Regions from separate parts of the Homo sapiens genome. Here region 1 is linked to region 2. Evidence: promoter capture Hi-C in 16 types of primary human blood cells and fetal thymus (Javierre and others, 2016). All regions are on one chromosome and are shown on one strand. The core of a region is centred on a gene start or on the middle of the fragment in contact, and the rest is flanking DNA. Distances in the headings are between cores, read along the strand shown.

Evidence for each region. The method cuts DNA at HindIII sites, captures the fragments that hold promoters and counts their contacts. A CHiCAGO score of 5 or more calls a contact.
Region 1: a contact is called between a fragment that was not itself captured here and the fragment with the promoter of SELENOT in region 2, in 3 of 17 cell types (megakaryocytes, erythroblasts and naive CD8 T cells). The highest score is 7.4, in megakaryocytes.

Annotation. Positions count from the first base shown.
Region 1 is chr3:151,133,091-151,140,148 of GRCh38, reverse strand. All of the region lies in intron 5 of MED12L (mediator complex subunit 12L), which reads right to left. Among named protein-coding and RNA genes, the nearest start is that of MED12L, 51 kb to the right of the region's middle. The HindIII fragment of the contact is 1,847 bases long and covers 4,161-6,007 here.
Region 2 is chr3:150,600,052-150,607,557 of GRCh38, reverse strand. It overlaps SELENOT (selenoprotein T), which reads right to left and starts at 4,237. Exons shown (of 6, transcript NM_016275.5): 1 at 4,059-4,237. The coding sequence starts at 4,195. LOC124900547 (a long non-coding RNA gene) reads left to right here and starts at 4,375. Exons shown (of 2, transcript XR_007096128.1): 1 at 4,375-4,614. RefSeq lists enhancers at 3,779-4,078, 3,353-4,126, 4,099-4,248, 4,369-4,448, 7,457-7,506. The HindIII fragment of the contact is 3,294 bases long and covers 1,472-4,765 here.

The DNA of each region.
Region 1 (7,058 bases), core at 3,835-6,334, 530 kb before region 2:
CATTTAAGTTAAGGTCCCAAAAAGCAAGTAGTTAGCTTAGAGAAAAGTAAGCTCTTGCAATTTATCTAAGAATAACTAAATTGTAATGCTACTGGGTAAGATGGCATTCCTTAAACTTCCTCCAAATCTTTTTCATAAAACATTCTTACAGCAAGATATCTTCCAGGAAAAGTACCAATGACAACAAAAAATAGGCAGTAATAATTTGGGACTGCGATTAGGCTTAGCTAACTTTTGTTTATATGAAAGCTCCTCTTGTGCATGTCTTAAAGAGTCCAATAGTTCTATATGATTTATTGTGAACACAACAGCCTATTGTCCATAAACTCCTCAATTATTCTCCAAAAGCAAATTATTTTCAACTCTTTCATCTGTTGTATTTACCTCTACCTCTAAATAACATGCTTACAGTCCTACTTCCTGATTGTAAGCATTACCCACTGGCTTCCTACATGGAAGATGATGAACATTCAGCTCTCTTTCACCTCCCATCAAGACCTTGCTTACATATTTCTCCTATGCCTGTCCCGCCAATATTCTCCTCTCACAACTTGAGTAGGTCTAGTCCATGTTAATACTATGAAGGAAAACTTGGCAGAATCTAACAAAATGGAAAAATGCACTTACCAGGCATCAATAAGAATTCATGTTTAGCTCAAGAGATAACACAATCACATATAAAAATATTTATAAATATATGTACATACATGAGTTAGTCCACACACATGCATCTCCTTAATCTGTCAACTGAGAGGGCCTAGAAGCAGTGACACCCCAAGTAGCAATAAGCACTCTTTGTGCTCAACTCTTGGTTTCTAATACCACTCTCCTTTAAAGACAACCAGGGCTCCTTGGAGAAATGGCTCATTATAGGATTGGAACAGAAAATATACACAATGAACATGGAATGCACCTTCTAGTGCCAGAAAAGAAGAAAGTACTTAGAAAGACAAAAACAAAAGCAAACTAAGATGGGTATGTCAAATGGACACAGGACACAGCTGAAAGAGCTCTCAATGGACAAAGGTGGAACAAAATAGAGTATTATAAACCAAAAGATGAAGTAAACATCTATGAATCAATACTGATAGAAATGCTTGAATACATACATACATTAATGAATGAAAGAATAGTAGGTAGGTAGGCAGGTAGGTAGGTAGGTAGGTAGATAAGAGACAAATCACCCATGCAGAAGAATTTTAAATAAGTAGATACTCTGCCCTCAAGGAGGGGGATGGTTAACTCCCCACTTCTTAAGTGTGGACTGTCCATATTACTTCCTTCCAAAGAGTAAAGTGTGGAAAGGGATGGGAGGGAAATAACTTTACACTGTAAAACCTGGTAAGTGCTACCTCAGCCAGGTGATCAAGGTTAACATCAATAGTCATAAGTCATGGTGATAGCATGTACCCTTGATGTAACATGATGAGAATGACATTTGACTTCTGTAACCCTGGTCTAACCATAAGAAAAATATCAGACAAATTCCAACAGAAGATAACCCTACAATATACCTGACTAGTACTCCTCAAAACTGTCAAACATCACTGAAACTGAGAAAATGTCACAGCCAAGAGAAGCCTAGGGAGATATGAGAACTAAATGTAATATAATATCCTGAATAAGATCCTGAAATGGAAAAGGGTCATTAGGTTAAAACTAAGGAAATCCAAAGTATGGACTGACTTTTATAATAATCAATATTGGTTCATTAATTATAATAAATGTATCATATTAATGCAAAATGTTAATAATGGGAGAAACTGTTTGCAAGGGTGAGAGAATGCATGGGAACTCTGTACTATCTTCTCAATTTCTCTGTAAATCTAAAAAGTTTTTTTAACATTTTTGAAATAAAAACAAGGGACTGGCCAAACTGTGGTACATCCACACAATGAAGGACTAAGAGGCCACAAAAAGGAACAGAGAACATCAAGTAATCACTAGGATATTGTTAAGTTAAAAAAAAAGGCAAGGTATCCAACAGTATATATAGTATGCTAATTACTATGTAAGGAGAAAGAAGAAATAAGAAGATATAAGTATTTGCATATTTTTTGCAAAAATAAAAACTGGAAGATTAAAAACTAGTAAGAAATGGTTACATCTGAAGATGGGGTAAAGGGAATTGTGTGAAAAGATGGAGATAGAAGCAAAACTTCTGCACATCTTTATATAGTTTTGACTCTTGAATATGTCAAGGTATTACATATTCAAAATATAAAATTAGTTCATAAGGGAAAAAAATCAAACCCTAAAATGGAAAACAAACTGAAACAGTGTACCTTACTGCAGAGAGAATCATTTTAAGTGAAACACAGTGTAAAGCTTAAAAAAAAAAAATTTCACATACTTTTAATGTATCAGATTATAATTCTCAAGCCAATATGTTTGTAGCAAGATGAAGCAGGTAAGTAACCATGTTCATTTACTAGAAATCATTTGATTGTTCATGTAATAGAAATGAAATAAACATAAAATTGAAGAAATTACTAAAAACTCTTTCTTGTTAAATAGGAAATGCTAAAGATAAGCTGGAAATAGGAAAACCCCCACATACATGCACACACATGCAGATATGTGTGTCTCCATCCATTTACCCACTGATGGGGCCTAGACACAACATCCCAGTAGCAATGAGCACCTTTAGCACCCAGATCTTGCTTTCTAAATACCATTCCCCACTAGAAAGAAGCAGAGTTCCTTAGACAAAAGGCTCTTTGGAGATCTGAGGCAGGAAAATTACAAGCGCCTGGGACATCTTTCTGTGCCAGAAAGCAAGGAGATGTCCCATGACAAATGGTGTCATGTCAAAAGTTTACAAGGAGCTAGAAGGGTCTCTGGCCAATTTTGGGGCAATTTTAACACGAAATTTAACAGAAGTGTACTTGGTTGTAAAATACAGAATAAATAAAACTTCATGAGCCCATAACAATGATCAAAAATAAACTTTTTTTCGTTCTTTTTTTTTTTTTTCTTTTTTTTTTTGAGACGGAGTCTACCTCTGTTACCAGGCTGGAGTGCAGTGGTGCGATCTCAGCTCACTACAACCTCCGCCTCCCAGGTTCAAGCGATTCTCCTGCCTCAGCCTCCTGAGTAGCTGGGATTACAGGCACATGCCGCCATGCCCAGTTAATTTTTGTATTTTTAGTAGAGATGGGGTTTCACCATGTTGGCCAGGATGGTCTTGATCTCCTGACCTCGTGATCCACCCACCTTAGCCTCCCAAAGTGCTGGAATTACAGGTGTGAGCCACCGCACACAGCCTAAACTTTTTTAATAAATAAAAAAATAGAGAAACATTTTTCACCACTGTGGAGATGCAACAATTTCTACTCCCAAAATTGAAATCAAAGGAAAAGAATTTAGCATTTATTCTGCCTTTTTTAGAAAGAACTGTAATTTATCACATGAGAGAAAGCCCTCATTTACTGAAGAATGCCTACATCTTGCCATTCCCAAAGAAATAACTATTCCAGGCTCAGTTCATCAACAGATGTTAAAACTTTTAGGTAAAAGATTATTGAGGAATGGAATAGCTGCAGGTACCAAAGTCTCACCCCCAATAGCCCCATTCCTTCTATTGGAGAATGGTTTTTACCAGATAGCCAGAGTTACCTCACCGGTTAAAACCTATTTTTCATGCCTAAGCAAAGTGTGAATTTAAACTAAGCTTATACAAGCACTTCTGTCCAATCTTCAGGATTACTTTCAGCATAAACAAGGCAGATATCGCCTTTATGACAAATGAGATAGAAGGAACACTGTGAAAATGTGGAGGCAATCTTGACAAAACTAAACGCTTGTCCCTGGAATCAAAAAAGTTAGTATGCAATGTCTTCACAGACCCAAACTGCAAGTAAGCTGGTAGGCTTAGATAAGAAACCAGACTGTCAATTATGAGTTTAGCAGGACTTATTTTTGCAGTCCAAATGGCTCAGTGAATATGTCACAAATTAATTACCCACTGTGAAAGAAGGGTGGCTGTTTATTCTTTGTATTTTGGGAGCGATAAGGATAGTGGTTACAAGAGTATAGTCAACCAAGAAAAGTCTCTCATCTGACTCAAATCCCCACAAAACCTCAGGTGGCACAGAGGAAATGACTAGGGGTAAACAGAGCAGTGCCCCAGGCAGTTTAACCACGAAGCATTTTAAGCTTCTTTGAATCTATCTGTTCCCCCAAAAAAGACCTCATGCGCATGATATGTCTTGTCACTTTTCACCATATTGAATACCCAAAAATTCCTAGGCAGAATTAAGGCTGCTCATCTTGCAAGCAGTTTCATATTTCTTTCTCTAGTTGCCATGGCACCCTGGACTTTGCTTTGCTCCTCCTGTTCCCCATAGCACCCATGAGAACAAGAGTTCTGACTCCTCAGATGCTGCTCAGAGCCACCAGTCCCGCAGCCTGCTTCCTGCCAGCATCTTTCCACCTAGAGATGCTTGTTGCCTCCAGTGGCCCAGACCCACACCACACACAGGCCACCAGCAGCTATCACCTCACAGCGAGGAGTGAGGAGCAGGCACTCTAGTGGCAGGTGCCTGGGCAGGGATCCAACTCCATCTAGGCCAGCAAGTTACTTAACTTCTCTGAGACTCAGGTCCCTCATACACAAAATGGAATAATGAAACCTACATTGCAAGGTTACAGATAAAGTCTGCAAAGTTCCCAACGGAGTAACACAGGATAATCAATAAATACTGGCTGGTAACAGCAGTTCTAAGTAGCAGTTGTCGCATATTATCAATGGTCTACATTTACTGTATGCCAGTCACTGTTCTAAACACTTTAAAGGTATCGATTCATTTCATTCTTAAAAAGTACTATCAGGCCAGGTGTGGTAGCTCACGCCTGTAATCCCAGCCCTTTGGGAGGCCAAGGTGGGCAGATCACCTGAGGTCAGGAGTTCAAGACCAACCTGGCCAACATGGTGAAACCTCGTCTCTACAAAAATTAGAGGAGCACGATGGCAGGTGCCTGTAATCCCAGCTACTTGGGAGGCTGAGGTGGGAGAATTGCTTGAACCTGAGAGCGGAGGTTGGCGTGAGCCGAGATCACACCAATGCACTCCAGCCTGAGCAACAGAGGAGACTCCATCTCAAATAAAAATAAATAAATAAATAAGTACTGTCAATTATCCTTATTTTTTTACAGACAAGAAACTGAGGGAAAGAGTCATAACAATAATAGTAATAATAAACCCTTCCATGGCTTTTCATCATGCACCAGAGGGAACTCACATATCTCACTCTGGCAAACAAACCTTCACACAGGCTTTCAGCACCTCCCCACTGGTAACTGATGCTCAAGCTGAAGTTAAATCCTGGAGGTGCAACAAGTCAAACTATTTGATAACGTATTTCTCTGCAGACTTCATCCTTCTGTCAGAAATGCCCTTCCCTGAACAACAGCCCACTCCAGCTGTGTCCTCCTAGGAAGCGTCTCTTCTTGCAAAAGTATACACCTAAGTCACTTCCTCTGTGAATCTCCTGGATGTCCCAAGTTCCCTCAGTGGCTTATTCCTTAAGACTTCCTCTGTATTTTCTTCCTGTCACTATGAAGTCTTCCTTCTCTAATATTTGATTGTTTGGATGCATGTCCCCTACTCATACTGCAAATACCTAGAGGGCAGTGATTACACTGTCACACTCTTGTCCTCACTGACCAGTGGTGTCCAGCACAGGCTCTGGAGCCAAGTTTGGACACTTACGCTGAGGGGTTCTGTGCACCACCTGCACATCACCATCCTCATCCACGAAATGAGAATAACGTATCTCTTTCACAGGCTATCTGAATAATAAGTCATAAAACGGACAAAATATACATAGAACCCAGCAAACATTTACTAATGAAATGGGGAACACTGTATCACTGCACAACAGAAGAACCGTGGCAGAGAGCCAATAGACCTGGTGAGGGACTGACCATTTTCAAACAGGCCAAAAAAAAAAAAAAAACAACCCCACAACAGCAAGGGATGGGGCATTCCCATGGCTGACAAGCTTCTCCAAACAACCTAGATCATTACCCAGCACACATCGGGAGCTGATTCAACCTTGAAATGCAGTTAGCACCGTATCCCTGCTTATCACAATACCGGGGATTCCATAAGTGCTCAAGAAATGCTGTTAACAGTGACAGCAATAACAGCAATAAATGCTGTAGTTATTATTAGTTGATTCAGCAACAATAAGACTCCTCATGGGGAAAATTCCTATAAATAAATGTACAAAATTCCGTTATTTACTATAAAGTCATATTTCCTAATCTGTTCAAAGACTTCAATTGCATAACTCAATGTGAGTTTTACTTTTTCATTTTTAAGTATTAGCTAGCCTGTTTTAAATAATTTTCTCTGGTGAGCTCAAAATATTTAAGGCAGCTGAACAATCTTGTTCTCTTAAAAATGAAACTTAATTCAACTCTAAAAATATCTGAAACCGAACATGCATTATTTCTGGCGTACTCTCCCTCAAGTAGCAACATCAACTATTTCATGACATTTTCTAAACATCGTGTCCACCTAAACCTTTTTTTTTTTTCAGGTCTCACAAGGACTAAGAATTACAAACTCTTCTTTCAGGCTTCCCTAATTCCCCTCTATTTAAAATCTCTGTCCTGATACTCAGATTTGTCCAAGTCAAATATTTCATTACCCACTTTGAAGTTACACATGAGACCTCACTCAGAAACCCAAGGCGCTTCTCACTCCTCTCACTTTTGTGTATACAGTGTACTGGGTACATCTTTGCTGACTGCAAGCTCCCCAGGGCAGCAACCCATTTAATCTACATTTGAGATCTGTAACTCTCTGCATAACGACAGTAAGGATCTCTGTGTTGCTCCTTGTTGCTGTGAGCCCACTTAACTTTGGGAAAAGTTCCCTTCAATAAAATCAAACAGCAGTGCTTTATAGCTCTGCTCCAATGCTGAAAGTAGGAACTGAAAATAAAACACGTTTCTATTACAAAGGAATAAAAGTCATTTCTACCGAAAACACTTTACAAATCCTAATAACAATCATCAAGACAACGGAAGTCATAAAACCAATGCCA
Region 2 (7,506 bases), core at 2,988-5,487:
TGGATTAATGTCTGCATCTGCTCTTGCCTGTGAAGTCCACGAGAGCACTGAATTGAATTCTCCGCAGGAAGCAAAGTGCCTGCACAGAGTAAGTGCTCCAATATCTGTTGAATATGCAAATATCAAGTCTACAGTAACCAACATGATCTCTGTAACTCACAATTTCTCCAATTCAGCATTTTACTACTAATCTTGATGAGTATCAACATCCAAATCAACCTTAGGTCTTTATTTTCTTGCTGTCACACTATGAAAGCCAAGGCTGAATAGTTGTAAATTTAAATAAAAATCTGTTTTGGTACAGTTGTTTCATTTACCTCTTAAAACTACATTTAGAAGTTGGCTGTCCTAAAATTACAGCAGTAGATTCTCAAACTAACAAAACTTTGAAAATCCCGCCATATTCTACTTATGTTTTGAAATCTCAATTTCATTTAATCTACTATTCTCAGCAATTCAGTTGTCAAATGTTCAAGTAAATATTAACTGTAAAGGGTTGTAGCCAATAATCTCTTTAAACTGCAACTAATTAAATGCTGTAGATCTGATTACATGTTAAATCGCATATACGGAGAAAGTATGTATGACAAACATCATGCCTAAGAGTAACTATCAATACAAATTTATAAAAATCAATAAAAGGAAAACACAAAAAGGGAATTTCAGCCGGGGGCAGTGGCTCAAACCTGTAATCCTAGCACTTTGGGACGCCAAGGTGGGTAGGTCACTTTGAGGTCAGGAGTTCAAAATCAGCCTGGCCAACATGGTGAAACCCCGTCTCTACTAAAAATACAAAAATTAGCCAGGCGTGGTGGTGCACACCTGCAGTCCCAGCTACTCAGGAGGCTGAGGCATGAGAATCTCTTGAGCCCAGGAGGCAGAGGTTGCAGTGAGCTGAGATCACACCACTGCACTCTAGCTTGGGCAACAAAGCAACACTGTCTCAAAAACAATGGAATTTTAAGCTCTGATTAGAGAACTTCCTTTTTCTATGTTAAGTGTTAAACGTCCAAATAAGCAGAATAAATTTTTTTCCAAGTATGAAGCCAATATAATCAAAAGTATCTAATTATATTGCTCAATCAACATAATAAACCACAGACTCAGATACACAAGTAATACTGTGCCAGTCTGGTAGACTTCTTGAGATGGTCACATCTTTAGCATGCTTAATTCCTGGCATACAGCAGGTATTACACACAGCCTGGGCAACAAGGCAAGACCAGGTCTCTACAAAAAATATGAAAATTAGCCAGGCGTGGTGGTGCGCGTCTGCAGTCCCAGCTACTTGGGAGGCTGTGGTGGGAGGATTATCGGAACTCAGGAAGTCAAGGCTCCGTGATCATGCCATTGCACTCCAAACTGGGTGACACAGCGGGACTCTGTCTCAGCAAAAAAAAAAAAAAAGGAAGAAAGAAAGGAAAAAAAAAAACGAGAATAGGAAACTCTGTCGTAAGCTACTCTACAAGCTTGATCTCTCAGCACTATGTTGCTATTGTGTTGACTAACAATTGCAAAAGTGGTACAATTACCAGGTGATATATTGAGGTATAGTTATTTTTGATAAAATACTCATGATCACTATAAGGGGAAAAAGTCAGTGGAAATGAAGGTAAAATAGTTCTCTTTTGATTGTTAGCAGTGGTAATTAATGAAAAGCTGCATTTTATAATACTGACTTCAAATGGAATTTTAAAATTCTCATGTTTATCCTCAAACGTATTAGCTTCCTGTCCTTTCTCAAACAAACTTGCAAATTAATGTCCACAAGATTCTAGCAAAACCAGAAACCCAATATTCACTTTACCATAAACAGATTAATCTCTGGGGGGAAAAGCAACAAACAACAAGCTAAGTTGATCTGTATTTGGTGGGTCTTATTAATAACGTTATTTCCCATCTACAGATTAAACAAAAAATGATCTCCGGTGGATAGTGTCAGAAAAATAAAAATAAAAATAATTTTTTAAATGGAAGCATTTTTGTTATATAACATGCTCAGAGTGACTGTAAAAGAAAATTATTAGACTTTTGGGACAGGTCTGTACTTAAAAACAAAGAAAAACAAAGTATCAAAAGTTTAACTGAAGTACTTACTACTTTTTTTTTAAGTTTAATTTGAAGGACTGAATGCCCTTCCCTACGTTTGTTTACACATTTTGAAAACCTTGCTATGAATAGCCTTGGTGGAAGATACACCTGGTAAATTATTGTGACAAGTGTTCCAAAAAAAGCAAACGTAAAAGGGGTATTTTGGAAAAGCAAAAATACAACCAAGAGATAAAAGTAGGATACAGAAAAATTAAATAATTTGAAAACTGCAATTTTTTAACACTTAAATCCGTAAGTATCACAACCCTTAACAATCTTTAGGTTAGTAAGATGATTACCACCTTCTAATTTAAAAATTAAGGAAAAAAGTTAATGGATAAACCATTCTCCCATTTGCAGTATTACATGAAAGATGATATATTCCAGAAACATAGTACATTGTACAGGGAGGTTTTTTTTTTTTTTTTTGAGACGGAGTTTCGCTCTTGTTGCCCAGGCTGGAGTGCAATGGCGCGTTCTCGGCTCACCGCAACCTCCGCTTCCCGGGTTCAAGCGATTCTCCTGCCTCAGCCTCCCAAGTAGTTGGGATTACAGGCATGCGCCACCACGCCAGGCTAATTTTTGTATTTTTAGTAGAGATGGGGGTTTCTCCATGTTGGTCAGGCTGGTCTCGAACTCCCGACCTCAGGTGATCCGCTAGCCTCGGCCTCCAAAGTGCTGGGATTACAGGCGTGAGCCAGCGAGCCCGGCCTTGTTTGTTTTTAATCAGGAGAAATTGCAATGTTTTAGTTTTCACTCAAAAAAATAAAGTCTCACCATCTTATTTTCTAACTCAAACATCACCTTAAGCCGATTTTTAAAAATTATTTTAAAGGTTTGCTTGGTCTTCAGTGAGTAAGTAAAAAGCTAGTTGGAGAAGTAGAAAATCAAAACTTTAATATACTAATACATGAAGTTCTTAAAAGAAGGTTTTAAATGAATGATGTCCAACACCAACATTCCAATGTATCCGGACTCTGATGATTTACTAATCTGGCTATTCTGGGATGGTCGGTTTATCCTGAGAAAATGTCATCTTTGGAGGTGTAAGATTCTCATTTCTATAATTTTACAATTTTGGTGTTTTTTCCCCCATCTTCAGAGCCTTTCAATCCCCACCCGCAACCCCACTTACCGTATAAAATGCATCATTGCCCTGCTTCTAACGATTAGGTTAAAAACAAAATCATTTAAAGAACACTGTCGAAAACTGCCGAGATCTGCTGGATACACAAGACAACTGAAAGGTAGAAAGAGATGCCAGAGCAGGCAACTCCTGGGAGGCAGGTGAGGAGGGAATGCGAGCGAACTGTCAATGTTTAGAAGAACAACGTGCTCCTTTTCTGACACTTTGGAAATGGCAAACAGAACCAGCATCCCCAGACCTTCCTTCCACCCCCTCCAGCTGTCAGACGCCCCATTCGCAAACTCAACAGTCCCCCCAGCAAGTTCAGGAGAAAAACGGCGTCTGTCACTCCCGGATCCTCTCCAATGACCCGAATTAACCTTCATCTAGCCAGGCAGCGAAGCCGCCCGGCATTACCCCGGAAAAGAGGGCAGAAAAAGTGAACTGACAAACGGTTGGCGCTCCTCCGCCGACGCGGCGCCTACTCATCCCCATCTCCGCAGGCAGCCGGGGTGGCTATGGCGTGACGCCGCCAACCAGTCCTCCGTACTAACAGGTGTCCCCCAGTCTTCGCCTTTCAGCGTTTAACCTTCTCGCGCCCTCCTTCCCCATTCCCACTGTTCTAGGAGGCAAAAAACAAGTGAGCAGTTATACCTGGAAAAGGAGGGCGGCCTGACCGCGCTAAGGGGCCGCGAGAAGGCTGGCTGTGGAAGGGCGCCGGCACAGTTCTACGAGGCCAGCGAAGATGCGGCCATTTAGGCCGCGAAGCCGGGGCCTCGCGTAGCCAATGGCGCCGAGCAGAGGCGCGGCGGGGTGGCCGGGGCCCAGTGCACATACTCACCAAATCTGGAACTTGAGCAGCGGCCCCGTGGCGTACTGCATCTTTAATCTCTTGCTGGGCACGCCGCCCAGATTGGCCGAGGCCTCGCTCCGGACCATCGCAGACGCCGCCACTAGGAGAAGCAGCAGAAGCCTCATCTTAAATGAGCCAGCCACTTCGGCCGCCCTCAGACAGACTGCAGCCAGCCCAAAGCCCAGGAGCGAGCTGCTCCCCACTGCGCAGGCGCGATCAGCCAAGGTCGGGGGAGGGGAGCAGTAATGCGCCTGCGCGGCCCGGCGCCCGCGCACACTCCTGGAGTGAAGAGCCGACCTGTTTCACTGTCCTGACTCACCACCATCTTGGTAGTGTGCAAGACTCTGGGACGGCATGAGAAAGGCAGAAAGGGAGCAAAGGAGCTGGTGGGGTGTCACAGGGCCTATGTATGAGGCAGATGTGAGTTCTGCATCCAGTTTTGCAATTTATCCATTTACCTGCCTGAGACTTGGAAACACCTACTTTATAGTCCTGATTCAAGTGTTGGCGGATGGAAGGGAGGAGACTCCTGACCCTCAGAATGGTAATGCTGAAATTTTTTGGGTGCGCTGTTATGGCCTTTTCTTTGATCTTACAATATTGCTTTCTCCTGAAAGAATATTAAACATAAGTTTTAGGAAACCTTTGGACAATTCCAAACATATCCAAAAATAGAATAACTACCTTAGCAAGCTTTAACAGTTACTATACATTTTGACAATCTTGATTTGTCTATATCTCTAAACACTTCTTCCCTTCCTAGGCATATTTGGAAGCAAATCTCAGACATCATATCATTTCATCTGTATATATATATTTTTAAACACGGTCTCACTGTCACCCAGGCTGGAGTTCAGTGGCGTGATCATAGCTTACTGCAGCCTCACACCCCTGGGCTCAAGCAGTCCTGCCTCAGCTTCCCAAGTGGTTAGGAATACAGGCACAGGCAACTATGCCTGGCTTACAATTATTTAAGCACATATTTCTAAAAAAGAATTATTATTAAAAAGAAAAAAAATTGACCACAGTGTTTCACATGTCCGTGTGAAGAGACTACCAAACAGGCTTTGTGTGAGCAACACAGCTGTTTATTTCACCTGGGTGCAAGCGGGCCGAGTCCGAAAAGGGAGTCAGCAAAGGGTGGTGGGATTATCATTGGTTCTTATAGGTTTTGGGATAGGCGGTGGAGTTAAGAGCAATATTTTGGGGGCAGGGGTTGGATCTCACAAAGTACATTCTCAAGGGTGGGGAGAATTACAAAGAACCTTCTTAAGGGTGGGGGAGATTACTGATCAACAAAGTACATTGATCAGTTAGGGTGGGGCAGAAACAAATCACAATGGTGGAATGTTATCAGTTAAGGCTATTTTCACTTCTGTGGATCTTCAGTTGCTTCAGGCCATCTGGATGTATATGTGCAGGTCACTGGGGATATGATGGCTTAGCTTAGGCTCAGAGGCCTGACATTCCTGTCTTCTTATATTAATAAGAAAAATAAAACAAAATAGTGGTAAAGTGTTGGGGCAGCGAAAATTTTTGGGGGTGGTATGGAGAGATAATAGGCGATGTTTCTCAGGGCTGCTTCGAGCGAGATTAGGGGCGGCGTGGGAACCCACAGTGGGAGAGATTCAACTGAAGAAAGATTTGGGGGTAAGGGGTGATATTGTGGGGTTGTTAGAAGGAGCATTTGTCGTATAGAATTATTGGAGATGGCCTGGATGCAGTTTTGTATGAATTGAGAAACTAAATGAAAGACACAAGGTCCGAATAAAAGAAGGAGAAAAATAGGTATTAAAGGACTAAGAATTGGGAGTACCCAGGACATCCAATTAGAGAGTGTCCAAGGGGGTTCAACGTTGTTGTCTGCTTGGTTGGAGAGTTTTTGGGCTCTATCTCTATCCTTAAGTTTTTTTATGTTGTCATATACCAGGCCAGATTGATTTAGGTAAAAACAACACTCTTCATTTAAAAATATACAAAGTCCTCCTTTTTCAGCAGTGAGTAAGTCGAGGCTTCAGTGATTTTCAAGGAAAGAGAGGAGGTGGGAAGGCCAAACTGAGGAATTATGTCTGACAGAAGGGAAGAAATGACCGCGGTGGCCTTCTTAGACCCTGTGGGAAAGGCCTCTACCCACCCAGTGAAATGTCTACCCAAACCAAGAGGTATTTTAGTTTCCTGACTTGAAGCATGTGAGTAAAGTCAATTTGCCAGTCCTCGGCGGGGCAAATCCCCGAGCTTGATGTGTAGGGAAGGGAGGGGGCCTGAACAATCCCTGCAGGGTAGTAGAATAGCAGATGGAACATTGAGAAGTGATTTCCTTGAGGATAGATTTCCACGATGGAAAGGAAATGAGAGGTTCTAAGAGACGGGTTAGCAGCTTGTAACCTACATGGAAGTGGTTATGAAATGACGACAGAATAGAATGGGCCTGTGAGGCTGGAAGGAGATATTTTCCTTGGTCCAAGAACCATTTGCCTTGTGTGGGAAGAGATTGATAGGCGGAAGTTTCAGTGGGGGAGTAGGTGGGAGTGACCAGATGAGAAGGAGAAAAACTGCCATGAAGGATAGAAGTTAGAATGCTAGCTGCTTTTTAGCTACCTTATCAGCATAAGCGTTGCCTTGAGCAGTGAGATCTGATGCCTTGTGATGGCTGTTGCAGTGAGACTCCACTTCCTTTGGAAGTACGGCCTTGCTCAGAGGCCTGACACACAGTATCATTGTCTCACCTTTAAAAAATAGTAATTGCGTAATATTAGTCAGTGTTCAAATATCCTGTGGTCTCAATAACTACTTATTTTCCTACTGTTCATTTGTTAAAATCAGAATCAAAATGAAATTTATACATTGTCATTGGTTGATGTGTCTTTTAGGACAAGTCAAAGACTTTTAAGACCAGGAACACACCAGTAATTGAAAAATTTTGTTTATCATTAATTGCAGCAAGAGGGATGCTATGGTTTGAATATGTCCCCCAAAAAGCATATGTTGGAAACTTAATGCCCAATGTAACAGTGTTGGGAGATGGGGCCTAATGGGAGGGCTCCACCCTCATGAATGGATTAATGCCAATTATGAAAGGGCTTAAGGCTTCGATTTCTATCTGTTGCTCTTTCACTCTTGCACTCTCCTGCACATTTACCTTCCTCCATTGGATAACAACACAAAGCCCCCATAAGATGTGGAGCCCTTGATCTTGGAATTTTCAGCTTCCAGAACTATAAGAAATAAATCTCTGTCTTTATTAATTACCCAATCTCAGTTATTCTGTTATAGCAGCCCAAGATGGACTAAGACGGGGGAACGCACACCATGGGAAACCATGAGAAGACTCAATTAGGAGGTGTTAGGATCTGGGGCTTGATTGGATGATTTGGAAAATGGAGCTGGGGTGCTGAGCGGTTCTATTATCAGAGATGTTCAAACCAGAGTGACTTCA